5 separate regions of the Homo sapiens genome follow, and all the other regions are linked to region 4. The links are contacts of gene promoters, found by promoter capture Hi-C in blood cells and fetal thymus (Javierre and others, 2016). All regions are on one chromosome and are shown on one strand. Each heading gives the region's core, a stretch centred on a gene start or on the middle of the fragment in contact. The rest is flanking DNA. Distances are from core to core; before and after follow the strand shown. Region 1 holds the start of LOC124902986 (a long non-coding RNA gene). Region 2 overlaps LOC105369913 (a long non-coding RNA gene). Region 3 overlaps LOC124902986 (a long non-coding RNA gene). Region 4 holds the start of CRADD-AS1 (CRADD antisense RNA 1). Region 5 has its middle 66 kb from the start of PLXNC1.

Region 1 (2,700 bases), core at 58-2,557, 360 kb before region 4:
GTCCCCAGACCACTCTGTAAAAACCACATGACTTGTCCTCTTCTTATTCCAGTCCATTAACTACATGATTAATTACTAAAGCTATTACTACCTAACATTTTTGGAACACTTATTATATCCCAAGGCTGTGTTGAACTTTCTATATGCCTATGGGCCACTAACATAACAACTCTATGTTTTAACTATAATTATGATTCCATTTTACCTTTGGGAAAACTGAGGCACAGAGAGCTAAGTTAACTAGCCCAAGGGCACATTCTCTCTGATCCAAAGCCAAGTTCTCGTGAGTACATCTTACCGTCTCCTTTGCTCCCCATGGTCCAGCTATGCCGAATGTCTTTAGTTCTCTGAATGACTTTAGTTCTCTGCTTCTTTATGGCTCTGAGCATTTGTCATGTGGTTCCCCTCTTTGAAATGACCATCTGTATCAGTTTCCTATGACTTCATAACACATTGCAAACATAACAGCTTAAAACACCCATTTATTAGTTCATAGTTCTGGAGGTCAGAAGCCTGAATGCAGCATGACTGGGTCCTCTCTTCAGGGTCCTACAGAGATAAAATCAAGGTGTCAGCTGGGACTAAGTCTCATACAGCTTGGGGATCCCTTCCAAACTCCCTGCTTATTGGCAGAGTTCAGTGCTCTTGCAGTGGTAGGATTGAAGGCTGGTTTCTCTGCTGGCTGTCAGGCAGGGGTCGTTCTGAGCTCCTAGAGTCAGCCTGCATTCCTTGCCACGTGGCCCCTTTCATCTGTAAAGCCAGCAAAGAAAATCTTGCCAATGATGAGTTCTTGCCGCTTGTCAAATCTCTTCTGCCAGGACAATCCAGTCCCTTTCAAAGGTTCACCTGGCTAGGTTAGGCCTACCCAGGATCATCTCCAGATCTTAAGATCAATTAATTTGGGAACTTTAATTACATCTGCAAATTCTCTTCACAGAAGCACCTAAATTGTTTGATTGAATAACTGGGCAAAGGTGTGTGTACACTGCGAGGGGGATGGGCTGAGAATCTTCAGGGGTCATCTTAGAATTCTGCCTAATCTTCAAAACTCAGCTCAAGGGTGACTTTCTTGATGTCTCTAGGCCGAGCTAGGTCCACCCCCTCTACCCCACAGCATCAAATACACACTCTTCTACTGGTCCATTTCCCCCCAGCTGGGCTGTGAGATTCTTGAGATCAGAAACCAAGCGTTGGTCATCTTTGTGTGCCCAGCTCCCGGAATAGCACCCGACTCTATATTTGCTGCCTGAGAGCTCAGGATGTGCTCAAGCAAGCCCTCCAGACGAGAAGGGCATTTTCATTAGAATTGCATGCATCGCAGGTACAGGGCTGTTGACGGGACAGCAAGTGCTTCCGGAAGGTCCCAGGAAACTTCATCGGCACCCTACGCTCCAAAGTCTTTTAGCCGAGAACCATGGGCAGGCCAGCACGCCTTCTGAAAAGCCCAGTGAAACCAGCATCGCCGTGACGGTGAGGCGGATGGGCCACTAGGTGTCACTCAAGATTCAATAAAGAGAATCGCGGATGCTTCGAAAGCCGTTTCCGCCCTTCTAGGGAAGGGAGCTGGTTAGACGATCCCCACCCATTGTTTTTTGGTTCACGCTCCAAGCCTTCCGCGCCTCTTCATTTCCCTTCGCGGACAAGTCTGGGTCTAAAATAGGATCACAGAATTCGAAGCTATAAGGCTGGGGGCCACCCGACCGGCTAATTCAGCCTCCCGATTTTGTGGACCAGCAACCAGAGCCGGGAGCTTGCGCAGGGCGGGCAGCAGAGCCCCGCTTCAGCCCCCACGGGGTCCGCGTGCTCCTGCCTACCCTCGAGCAGCAGTGAGGAGGCGTGGGCGGGTCCCGGCTCTCGGCCTGGGTGTCCAGGGTGTCCAGGGTGTCCTGGGTCGTCCCGGGGGCTGCACCGCGAGGTGTCCCTCAGGACCACTTCCAGATGCCCAGGCCGCATTCAGCTGATTCAGCGCCCGTGCTCCAGAACCCAAGACAAGGAAGGTGAAAAAGAAGGTCCCGTGGATCTGTTAGGACCTGACCTTTCTTCAGATCGTCTCAAACAATCTCTTCTTTCTTTGGATTTTAGGGCTGGGGAGTGAGGACGCACCTGGCTTCCTGACAGCATCTGCAATTGACTACAGTCCTTTCACTTATGCCAGGGGGAGGTTCGGGGCTGAAGGGATGGGGTCGCAAAATGCTCGTGCAAAGCACCTTCTTGGCAGGAGTTTGGTTTTTCTGCCCCCACCCTCCTACTTTCCCCGTGGAAGAAGTGGATGTCCTCGCGCGAGGTTCGAACAGGCTGCAAGACCAAGGCACCGCGCGTGCGGACTGATCTTCCTCACCCCCGGCAGAGGGCGCCCTTCTCCCGCTCCAGCGCCCCGCCGGGCGAGCCCCTCCAGCCGCGCCCTGAGCCCTGCCTCGTCCAGGCCGGGTCTCCAGCGCCAGGTGCCTGCAGCCCTACACTGGGAGAATTACAAAGCTACTTCTGTCTGACATTGGGCACAGCCTTTGAATGTCCCGTTCCTTTTGCTCCTAGCTGACTTACTGCTCATTTTTATTTTCCTAAGTGAATATTGAAACTTATTTGCATTTTATGGAGCTCCTGGTAACAGAGGGATCTTACCTGGCAGGGTGAGAATCCCGCTAAGGAAGTTGGCTCAGGACGGAGGTTCTCGCCAGGGCTCACCCACAAAGGGAATAATCC
Region 2 (2,700 bases), core at 4-2,503, 310 kb before region 4:
TCTCTCCAATGATTTCCCAAGAATAGAATAGGATGAGCAGCCAAATAGTGGGCGCGAAGGCTTGTCTCTTTCATTTCCAGCACAGCCCTGGAAAAAAAATCTCCCTACCTCACCTGCAATCACTCCTCCCTGGTCAGAATGTTTCTGCCATTTGGGCTTCATCTTATAGCCTTCGTGCCCATCAGCCCTGAGGGCAGGCAGTTTATGTGTTTGGCATGCCCTGTAACTCTCCAGCATTCTGAACCTTTACTGCAAGTCAGAGGCATTTATTAATGCTGCTAATAATAGTACCTAGCAGGGAAGGACTGGCACAAACATGCAAGAAGCAGCGTTTCCCTTTACTGTGCTTTCATTGTTCACTGGAACATGACAGATGGAGATAAATTCAGACTTGCCTTTTCAGTTCCGTCACTTGGGTTACTGATCCCATTACTAGAAGTTGTGCTTTGCTGGTGCCCGTAGAAACATGCAGCAAATAACAGGCTGTAGGGTGTTCTCATGCTCCATTCGTGCAGCCTGAAACAGAAAAGTTTGGTTTCTGAGAAAGCTGCAGGTTCCATCTCTGTAGCCTGAGGTTGTTTTGAAATGAGGCGGCCATAAAAGCTGAGCACAAGCCGAATCTTGCCTGCCTTCTTGCTTGCAAAGTGCAAAAAGGCAAGCAGAGAAAGCAAAATTACCTGTCTTTGTGTGCCTTTGTGTATCCCTATCTCTCAGTCTTTTACTTTGAAAAATTTCTCTATTTAGAACTGTGTAAATTGATATCAATTGCTAATCTCATTGAAGCCAGGTTTATGCCAAAAACTATGCAGGGAGCCTCCCAGGTATTATTTCTTTTGAACCTCGATAACTCAGTGCTATGTTGTTATTCCCATTTCATAGAGGAGGAAACCAAGGCAGGGAGAAATTCAGGTTATATGTTCAATGTAGCACAGTTGGTAAGGGGCAGAGGTAGAATTTGAACCTGTGTTTTTGTGACCCTAGAACCTGCAGTGGCAACCCCAATATCCTATTGCCTGTTGAGAGAGCAGAGGAGAGTTTGCAATCTCCAGTTGCTTCTTTCCACCACGGGCTGGCAGCTACTGGCCATTCCTATTGTGGAAAGCAAAAGGCATCCCAGCCTGGGAAACCAGCTGGATTTCATCACATCAGCTGAAGTCACGTCAGCTGACTTCAGGTCAGCTGAAGGTGTAGTCACCTGCCTCCACTTCCACTTTCCCTTCACAACTCTCTGTCACCCCACTCACCCCAGTCCTGACACACCAGATGGCTGCTTTTCTACCTGGTTAGTTACTGGGTACTGCAGGCCTCTGTTTCTCCAGGCTTCTTCACCAGTGTTTCTGCTGCAGGATAGGTTCAACGCAGCTTTCGTTGGCTGGTCTAGGACTTGATACAGTGGGCTGCACACTGAGCTCTGAACCAGGAATTCACAAATAAGTTGTTAGGACCTGCCGTGGTCTGAATGTGTTCCCTCTCCCCTCCCCCCAACAAATTCATATGTTGAAACTTAACTGCCAATGTGATAACATTAAGAGGTGGGGCCTTTAGGAGATGAGTAAGTCATGAAGGCTCTGCCTGTTACGAATGGGATGAGTACTCTTATAAAAGAGCTCAAGGGAACTAACTAGATCCCTTTTGTCCTGCCTTCTGCCATACGAGGACATAGCAATAAGGCACCATCTGAAAGCAGAGAGTAGCCCTTAGCAGACACTGAATGTGTTGGTGCCTTGATCTTGGATTTCCCAGCCTCCAGGACTGTGAGAAAATAAATCTCTGTTCTTTGCAAATTACCCAGTCTTGGATATTGTGTTATAGCAGCAGAAACGAACTGAGACAGGACTCTACTCATGTATTGTTTGATGAGTCTCCCGTAGTCCTGCCATAAGAAACTGAGTGCAGGCCAGGTGCCGTGGCTCACGCCTGTAATCCCAGCACTTTGGGAGGCCGAGGTGGGCAGATCATGAGGTCAGGAGATCAAGACCATCCTGGCTAACATGGTGAAACCCCGTCTCTACTAAAAAATGCAAAAAATTAGCCGGGCGTGGTGGTGGGCACCTGTAGTACCAGCTACTCAGCAGACTGTGGCAGGAGAATGGCGTGAACCCGGGAGGCAGAGCTTGTAGTGAGCCGAGATCGTGCCACTGCACTCCAGCCTGGGCGACAGAGGGAGACTCCATCTCAAAAAAAAAAAGGAAAAAAATAAAGGAAACTGAGTGCAAAAACATGCCCGTGCAAAAGTGATCTGTTGAGAGTAATGTATCATGTTGTGAAGGGGTTCACTCACTGTGAGAACATGGTGGAAATGAAGAACACTAGCCTGGGATTCAAGTGAAGCTGTCCTTTCCTGAGCGCTTACTGTGGACTGGGCACTGTGCTGGCCTCTTGCCTACCTGATTTCATGCAGGCCTCAAAATTGTTTTGTGAAGTAGGCTGCCTTATCGATATTTTACAAATGAGAAAACTGAGGCTAGATATATTAACTGGCTTTTCAAGGGCGGTTTGACTTGTAAAGTGGAGTCTTCAGTTTCCAATGCCAATGTTCTTTTTTCTTTCTTTCTTTCTTTTTTTTTAACTCAGCTACTAATTTACTTTATAATCTTAAGGGGAAAAAAACCCTTTTGGCCTTATTTTCATATCTTTAAAATGAGAGGTTAGATTAGATCACGGTTTTCTAATTTGTGTTCCAAGAAACTCCTAGTTAGG
Region 3 (2,700 bases), core at 16-2,515, 380 kb before region 4:
GCCTGTAATCCCAGCACTTTGGGAGGCCGAGGCGGGTGGATCACTTGAGGTCAGAAGTTCGAGACCAGCCTGGCCAACATGGTGAAATCACATCTCTACTAAAAATATAAAAATTAGCCAGGTGTGGAGGTAGGTGTCTGTAATCCCAGCTACTCCTGAGGCTGAGGCATGAGAATCGCTTGAACCCGGGAGGTGGAGGATGCAGTGAGCCGAGATCGCGCCACTGCACTCCAGCCTGGGCGACAGAGTGAGACTCCACCTCCAAAAAAAAAAAAAAAACTCAAAAAAAACAAAAAACAAAAAACAAAAAACAAAAAAACCCCACAAAACTCCTCACCTTAAACTGACCAAGAAGAAGCCAGACTACTACTTCCACTTTTATGTTGTGGCTGGCAGACCACAAGGAGCCTGCTCTGGAGAGGGCGGAGAGGGAAAGCCCAGCTGCTGCTCACTCAGCCCCTTTTTGACAGAAGACTTGTCCCCAGATCAGGGATGACCAGGGAAGAGATCAGTGGACAGGGTAAATCCACAGCCATTTGATGTAGGGACATTTTAATTTGGGAAATCAAATGCAGGAAAGATATTACCTTACTGTTCATTTCAAGCATCTCACACACACCATTAAATGCCCCAAACCAGGCTACTATTGAACCTTAACCACATACAAATGACATATTTACCCAAATACCCCAACATGCTAACAATCCTTTCTGGGTTGCATGTAGCCCAAACTGCCCCTGTGTGTGAATTACAAAAGGCACACTCCCACCCCTTCTTCAAGACACTTGGCTTACTTCTGTTGGAAAATTGTTGTCATGGGCTGATTTATTAGAATAAGACACATGACTATCATCTGCCAGAAAACTATCATAATAAATATACAAACTAACTGTGTTTACTATCAATGATGGTCCTTTAGATGTGGTGCCCTTGTGCAGAAGTCAGTTTGAAATAGAGAAGTTTGAAATAGTTGTATCAAGGCCATCAAAAGCTTAACTTCCTTGTCCCAGTATCCTTATTAATGCTTTGCAAAATCATGATCCTTAATGCATTTCTCGTCTTGCTATGGTCAACTTGTGATACACTGAATGAATAAAATAGAGCGAACAGAAATGAAGGATCTGTTTGTCAGATCGGTTAAACCAGGAAGTTTCAAAAGAAAGGATTGTTAGCATGTTAGAGTATTTGGGTAAATACGTAATTTGTATGTGGTTAAGGTTCAATAGTAGCCTAGTTTGGGGCATTTAATGGTGTGTGTGAGATGCTTGAAATGAACAGTAAGGTAATATCTTTCCTGCATTTGATTTCCCAAATTAAAACGTCCCTACATCGAATGGCTGTGGATTTACCCTGAGCATCAGCTCTGAGGTTGGGAATAGACGACCTGTGTACTTCTGCCTCCTGATCATGCCTGGGGCGTTCTAATCTCATGGTCTAAAGGTCTCAAAACAGGTAAAACAGAAATGAATGTTCTCAAATTCGTGGGGGTATCTCACCAGTTATTTTGGAAATAAATATAGCTGCATGCAGACAAGCTTCCATTTGTCCAGAAGTACCTAACTAAGTGGAAGCTGCCCACACTATTACACTGGAGTTAAAGTATTCTGAGCTCCACCCACTCTCTACCCATTTTTAGCATAGTGTGATGGAGGCAAGCAGACCACGAGAACCCAGTGGAAATGTCACCAAGTGACCAGATCGCAGGCCTGTTTGCAGGTGGTGTCTGACTGCTGGTCACCAGATCCCTCCCACCATAAATACAAAAGTTCCTTGTCAAAATTCTTTCACACAAGTTCTTATGCTTTAAACTCACAAAAGTAGGACAGGGCTCCTATCTCTCCATTTTACAGAATGGGAAACAGGCTCAGAGAGGCCAGTGTGTAGGAAAGTCAGGAACCAGAATATGGGTCTCTTGATTCTTTGGTCCAACATTCCATGAGTCTCAGTTTTTAGCACTGAGATCATGTGGGGGAACTTTGAAAAATGTGGATGCCCAGGCTCAATCCCAGCTCCTCAAGAGATAGAACCTGGAATGTGTATTTTTCTTTCTTTCTTTTTTTTTTTGAGATGGAGTCTCACTCTTGTCGCCCAGGCTGGAGTGCAGTGGCGTGATCTTGATTCATTGCAACCTCCACTTCCCAGGTTCAAGCAATTCTCCTACCTTAGCCTCCCAAGTAGCTGAGATTACAGGTGCCCACCACCACAACTGGCTAGTTTTTGTATTTTTAGTAGAGACGGGGTTTCACCATGTTGGCCAGGCTGGTCTGTAACTCCTAACCTCAAGTGATCACCTGCCTGGGCCTCCCAAAGTGCTGGGATTACAGGCGTGAGCCACCGCACCCAGCCTGGAATGTGTATTTTCTTTAAAGTGCCATGAGGGCTAGGCGTGGTGGCTCATGCCTATGAGACCAGCACTTTGGGAGGCTGAGGCAGGAGGATCACTTGAGCCCAGGAGTTCGACACCAGCCTGGGCAAGATGATGAAACCCTGTCTCCACCAAGGAAAAAAAAAAAAAAAAAAAGGGTGGGCATGGTGGTCCACGCCTGTAGTCCCAGCTACTCAAGAGGCTGAGGTGGGAGGACTGCTTGAACCCAGGAGGTGGAAGTTGCAGTGAACCACTGCACTCCAGGCTGGGCGACAGAGTGAGACCCTGTCTCAAAATTAATTAATTTAATTACATTAAAATAAAGTGCCATGAAT
Region 4 (2,700 bases), core at 53-2,552:
GGTCAGGATAGGTGGCTTCGTGTCTCTACATAGTCAGATACCTGTGTATTTTGCTGGGAGAAGGGGAAAAAAAATAAACAAATAAAAATAAAACTCTCTATTCCCAAACTCCCTGCATCCTTTCAAAGTCACATTTTATTAATGGAAATTAAAATGATGAAGAAAGAAACCATTAGTAACCTAAATGATAAGTTTCCCCTTAAAGACACATTTTAACACCAACAAGAGGACTTTCTTCTTTCACTTTCTTCCTTCCTTCCTTTCCTCGTTTCTCTCTCTCCCTCTCTTTCCTTCTTTCTTTCTCCTTCCCTCTCTCTCTTCTCTTTTTCTTTCTAGTCAGAGTTTGTGACTTACTAATTATTTTTATTCTGTTTGAATAGGGTCCCTGTTATCTTTTGTGATTTTCTGAAATGAAGTTAAGATTTCCATTATTTATGAGAATAAAACAGGAGGTTGACACTTTACGCACAAAAAAGAATAACCAAAGGTTACAATGACATCAGTTTTAGTTTTTATTAAGGGCTGGCGTGTGGTGCAGGGGGTGGCGGTGGGAGCGGGGTGAGGCAGGTGTGAGGAATGAGTTTGTTTCTTCCAAGAGAAGGATTTGCTTTGGTCAGTGTTGCTGCAGTCCCAGTGAAGGGGCCTACTCTGCCAGCTCTTCTGGGTAGACTTCATAACAGAGTGGGCAGGCTCAATTCTCTAGGAAGCCTGATGATGGCAACTGCATCTCATGGAAGAATTCCACAAAGGGTTAAATTAGGGTGAGATTGTCAACAGGCTTCAAAAAGGCAGAGTTCCAGGGCCCATGCCTGAGGTCTCATGGGCCTCCTTCAGGTCCTCATCCCCACAGTCTGACACTTTTGGCCCTTCTCTTCTCCAGCTCCCCACCCCATTCTTCGGCCAGTCCTTCCTTTTTCCTCTAACCCTGCAAAAAATGAGCAGCGCTGTTGTTTTGTTCCAACTGACAAAACAGCTAAGAAACAGCAGAACATGACTGCCCTTTGCAAAATGGGCCATGTGATCCTCCTAGCTCAATTCAACACTTACAGTAAAAACGAATAGAAAGGGACCTGTTTATGAAACTCTCCTGCTTGCCTTTGGAATACTCTCATCCTCTCCCTTCTCAGCCTCCTAAATACCCAAGTGAATTTATATAATGAGCTTTATTTTATCACCCTGAAATTCTTCCTCAGTCCAAATTGCTAATGTGGCAGGTTCCAGCTGCCCAAATTCCCTAAACAACATTGCCTGTTCCATAAAAAGCATGCAATTACAAGCACAGCAGTCCTGCTCTGGTTCTTAGAACTATAAACTGACTACACAGCTCCCTGGCCCGGGAAGGCTATGAAACAGGCAACATGGACAATTTAAAGGTGTACAACATCCGAGGTTCCATTTCACCCTCAGGCAGCACGGAGTGGACAAGGTAAGGCCACCCTCCACTTTTCTTCTGGCTACTATATTGATTCTCTGGAAACTCTCTCTGCTCCAAAAGAAACCACCCAATCCCATGGAGAAAAGGTGACACTGAATTTGCACTGCTTTTTATGGTTGCATTTGTTTGACTAAGAGGGAGCAGAGTTCCATACAACAGACTGCTTTAGTTGGGTGACTTGAAAATAACACATACCAGATTAGTTCTCCAGATGCAGATTAGTACTAAGTTTGAATCCTTTCTTTTAAATTAATTAATGTAATCTCAATGTTTACATAATAGACATTGACTTTTATCTGGCACATACAGTATATGACTCTGCCTTTAGCAAAAATACCATTCAAGCTATCTTTAGCAGATGTGAATGTTTTATTTTTATTTTGGGGACTCCAAAGAGAGTCCATAACCTACCTTGGCATTGTCAGATCTCAAAAAAAGCTTTCTTCATACTTGCAATATAGTAATATCTAAGTACTTGGACATCTCTGCACAAAATATATGGGTCCACATCTCCCTGTTTTTCCATATACTATTCCCTCTGCAACCTTGTTCACATAGCAAACTCTAATTTATTCTTCAATAGGCAGCCTATGCCACCTTCCCTCAACTATCCCAGACCAGTAGTCATCACTGCCTCCTCTACCCCTTGTACATTTCTCTATGTGGTCTCACCAGAGAAGTACTATGTTTGCTCATATGTCTGGTCTCACCAGACAGTACCATGTTTGCTCAACTCAAAGTTCCTTGAGGAAATAATTGTATTTGTATCTCCAGTGCCTTGCATATTTTGTATCACATAATGAGTTCTATAAAAGAGAACTAAACTGATGTGGCTATGAAATGATTTACAGCTTTTAACTGGAATGAGCCTAGTACAAGACTCACTTAGATGCTGGTGGTTGATCCTAAGTTTCTCATGCTGTTATCTGCAATCATTTGCTCTTGCTCTACATTCAGAAGAGAAAGAAAAACTGGTGACACTAATCTGGCCTCTATATCATAATTAGACCAGGGGTAGGATCTGAGAAACTAGAAAATATTTAGCCTACCCCTAGTCACATCCTAAAAGACATCAATGTGGAACTCAAGGAACTCAGTGGATTTACCAACATTTATCATACCCTATATCCACCCATTATAACTACTTGAATTGTCATGGATGGGAACAGAAGATAGATTTTATTGTGGAGAACAGAATAAATCTAATAAAAGAAATAACTAGAGGAAAAGTTGGGGCTAGTTGACGTTTTTAAGTAGAGATGGGA
Region 5 (2,700 bases), core at 99-2,598, 340 kb before region 4:
GGAAGCTTTCCAGTGGGAAGCTGGTTCTCGTCCCTGTTAGCTATTGGGCATCTTCACAATCTAGGCCTGTAGTTTTCTCAAATGTTATATAAGGTGGTTGGACCAGATGAGCTATAAGATGCCATTTAGTTCTAAGCCTACATTGCTCTTATTGGCCTATTTATAGTGAGGGGAAAATTTTCTGGATAGAAGAGAAAGGTTTAGTGTTTGAATGGCTTGCAAAATACTATGGATTTTCTTCTTTAGAACTATTTGTGAACAGGATCAATCTGATAGCTGCAGACTGATAAATCAACTATATGCTCTGTAATACTTCTTTAAAACAGGGGTAGTCAAATTCAAATGCCTCTGGGAACCAGACAGTAACTTAAGTGAGTCCAGCAGACTGGCTGTAATAAAACAGGAAGTAGTAGGGACTATGGCAAAGATTATGTGTTGGGCTGTTTTGGCATCGATATAAAGAAATACCTGAGATTGGGTAATTGATAAAGAAAAGAGGTTTAATTGACTTATGGTTCTGCAGACTGTACAGGAAGTATGGTGCTGGCATCTGCACAGCTTCTGGGGTGGCCTCAGGTGGCTTTCAATCATGGCAGAGGGCAAAGTGGGAGCAGACACATCACATAGCAAGAGCAAAAGAGGGAGTGATAGGGAGGTGCCACACACTTGCATAACCAGATCTCACAAGAACTCACTATTGTGAGGACAGCACCAAGCCATGAGGGATGTGCCCCCATGACCCAAACACTCAAACACCTACCACCAGGCCCCACCTCCAACGTGGGCCCCACCTCCAACATGAGATTTGGACGGGACATCTAAACTATATCAGATTACATGTGATAAAATAGGGAGTGGTGGAGACTGTGGCAAACTCGAATGCTCTTATGGCTTTACTTGGAAGTGATCATTGCTCAGCTTTGGTCAGTTCCTGCCAAACAGCAGTGGGGGTGTATTAGCCCATTTTCACACTCCTATAAAGAAATTCCTGAGACTGGTAATTTATAAAAGAAAAACGTTTCATTGACTCACAGTTCCACATGGCAGGGGAGGCCTCAGGAAACTTACAATCATGGCAGAAAGTGAAGGGGAAGCAGGCAGCTTCTTCACATGGCGGCAGGAGGGAGAAGTGCAAGTGCAGGAAAAAACTGCCACTTTAAAAACCATCAGATCTCACGAGAACTCACTCACTACCATGAGAACAGCATGGCGGAAGCCGCCCCCTTCATCCAAGCACCTCCCTCCCTCAACACATGGGGATTCCAGTTTGAGATGAGATTTGGGTAGTGACACAGAGCCAAACCATATCAGTGGGCTTAGGATGCCTAATCCTGAGATTTTTAAAGGGAAGCCAAAATTTTAATGTGAAGTCTCCCAATGTGAAACATCTTAGTAACTGGATTAAATTCTAAAAATAACATCACTGGAGAAACAAAACACTTCTATTGACTCATTGTGGTCCCTCAAGTTACCAGTTTGTAACTTTTGCCTCAAGCCTTTGAATGCGATATTTACAAATACTAATAAACAGCTTAATGAAATGTACAAACATTTTAACGTTCCTTGTTTGCTCATGTATAAAAAACAGTTTTTGAGATGTCCTAAAAACACATGATATTATTCCCATTTTGTGGCTAAGAAACTCAAAGCGAAACAGGTTTCCATTACATAAAGACCTGCAAGCAGAACTTAGATTTAGAGCTTAGATTTCCTGGAATACCCAATATTCCTTCTCTCAAATCCTTTTTGCCATTCATGTTAATGAGAAGGGACAAGGCAAGAGCTATTTGCACTGACACATCCACAGGCACATGGACCTGGGTACTGGACGCAGACCAAAGATGTAAATATTATCTTAAGAGAAATGGTAGGCTGTCTGAGTCTTGTTATGTAGTGGAAAGGAAAATGATTGGGACGTTTGGTGTTGGTTCAAATGATCTTGTAATTATAGGATATGGTTGAAATTATAAGGCCCAAAATATAGAAGTAGAAAAGGCAATGTGAAAGAGTAGTTGGAAAACTACCAGAAAAGCAAAAGGGAAGATATCAGAAAGTGATTCCAGAGGCAGTGTGTATGGTTAGTACTCCTTACCGATGGGGTTAGCTATCCTTCCATCGACATGCTTAGTAACTGCTGTTTAATTGCTATTCTGTCCCAGGCAGTAAGTAAGCAACAAAGAGACAATAGCAAGCAAGTAGACATAGTTCTTTTTCTTCTAGAGTTGCTGTCTAGAGGGAAGACAGACAAGTAAATTAGCTGTAAGTATAGACTTGATGTCCAAGCCCAAAAGAATAATTAATACCTGTGTCCCCTAACCAGCCATGTATTTGACCAAGTGCCATCTGATTTGCCTTGTCACAGTTTGTTTCTCAGTGGAAACATGAGCAGTGTGCATCTTAATCCTCTGCTTAGAAACAGAAATCTGAATGTGAGGAAGACATGGGGCTAAGAGTGGCCTCTTAAAAATTAGCATTAACATAACTGGCAAAGAACTAAGAAGACCTGGGTTCCCATCTTGTCTCTGCCATTTTACAGCTGTAGGAGCTTTGGCAGGCTGCTTGCCTCTCTGAACGTCAGCTCCTTTTCTATAAGTAAGAGTTTCAGCCCATCTTCAGGACTGTTATGATGAATATTATGTTTGTGACAGTGGTTATTGGCATTACGTGTAACACTGAGAAAAGCAAGCTTTCTCTACTCCC

The links. Contacts are between HindIII fragments. The CHiCAGO score rates a contact against its expected background, and 5 or more counts as called.
Region 1: a contact is called between a fragment that was not itself captured here and the fragment with the promoter of CRADD-AS1 in region 4, in 14 of 17 cell types (megakaryocytes, activated CD4 T cells, erythroblasts and 11 more). The highest score is 12.5, in megakaryocytes.
Region 2: a contact is called between a fragment that was not itself captured here and the fragment with the promoter of CRADD-AS1 in region 4, in 1 of 17 cell types (fetal thymus). The highest score is 5.6, in fetal thymus.
Region 3: a fragment that was not itself captured here is called in contact with the fragment with the promoter of CRADD-AS1 in region 4 in 1 of 17 cell types (activated CD4 T cells); the score reaches 5.6 in activated CD4 T cells.
Region 5: a fragment that was not itself captured here is called in contact with the fragment with the promoter of CRADD-AS1 in region 4 in 7 of 17 cell types (fetal thymus, M0 macrophages, activated CD4 T cells and 4 more); the score reaches 7.9 in fetal thymus.

Annotation. Positions count from the first base shown.
Region 1 is chr12:94,101,215-94,103,914 of GRCh38, reverse strand. LOC124902986 (a long non-coding RNA gene) reads right to left here and starts at 2,302. Exons shown (of 2, transcript XR_007063409.1): 1 at 299-2,302. RefSeq lists enhancers at 1,580-1,749, 2,200-2,259, 2,316-2,700. The HindIII fragment of the contact is 2,851 bases long and covers 1-2,700 here.
Region 2 is chr12:94,045,658-94,048,357 of GRCh38, reverse strand. It overlaps LOC105369913 (a long non-coding RNA gene), which reads right to left. Exons shown (of 4, transcript XR_945223.3): 3 at 1,280-1,411; 4 at 320-516. Among named protein-coding and RNA genes, the nearest start is that of PLXNC1, 100 kb to the left of the region's middle. The HindIII fragment of the contact is 3,707 bases long and covers 1-2,700 here.
Region 3 is chr12:94,121,051-94,123,750 of GRCh38, reverse strand. The region is part of intron 1 of LOC124902986 (a long non-coding RNA gene); the gene reads right to left. Among named protein-coding and RNA genes, the nearest start is that of PLXNC1, 26 kb to the left of the region's middle. The HindIII fragment of the contact is 544 bases long and covers 994-1,537 here.
Region 4 is chr12:93,736,425-93,739,124 of GRCh38, reverse strand. CRADD-AS1 (CRADD antisense RNA 1) reads left to right here and starts at 1,302. Exons shown (of 3, transcript NR_110092.1): 1 at 1,302-1,426. All of the region lies in intron 2 of CRADD (CARD and death domain containing adaptor protein), which reads right to left. The HindIII fragment of the contact is 4,271 bases long and covers 1-1,875 here.
Region 5 is chr12:94,081,376-94,084,075 of GRCh38, reverse strand. No RefSeq gene overlaps it. Among named protein-coding and RNA genes, the nearest start is that of PLXNC1, 66 kb to the left of the region's middle. The HindIII fragment of the contact is 2,681 bases long and covers 8-2,688 here.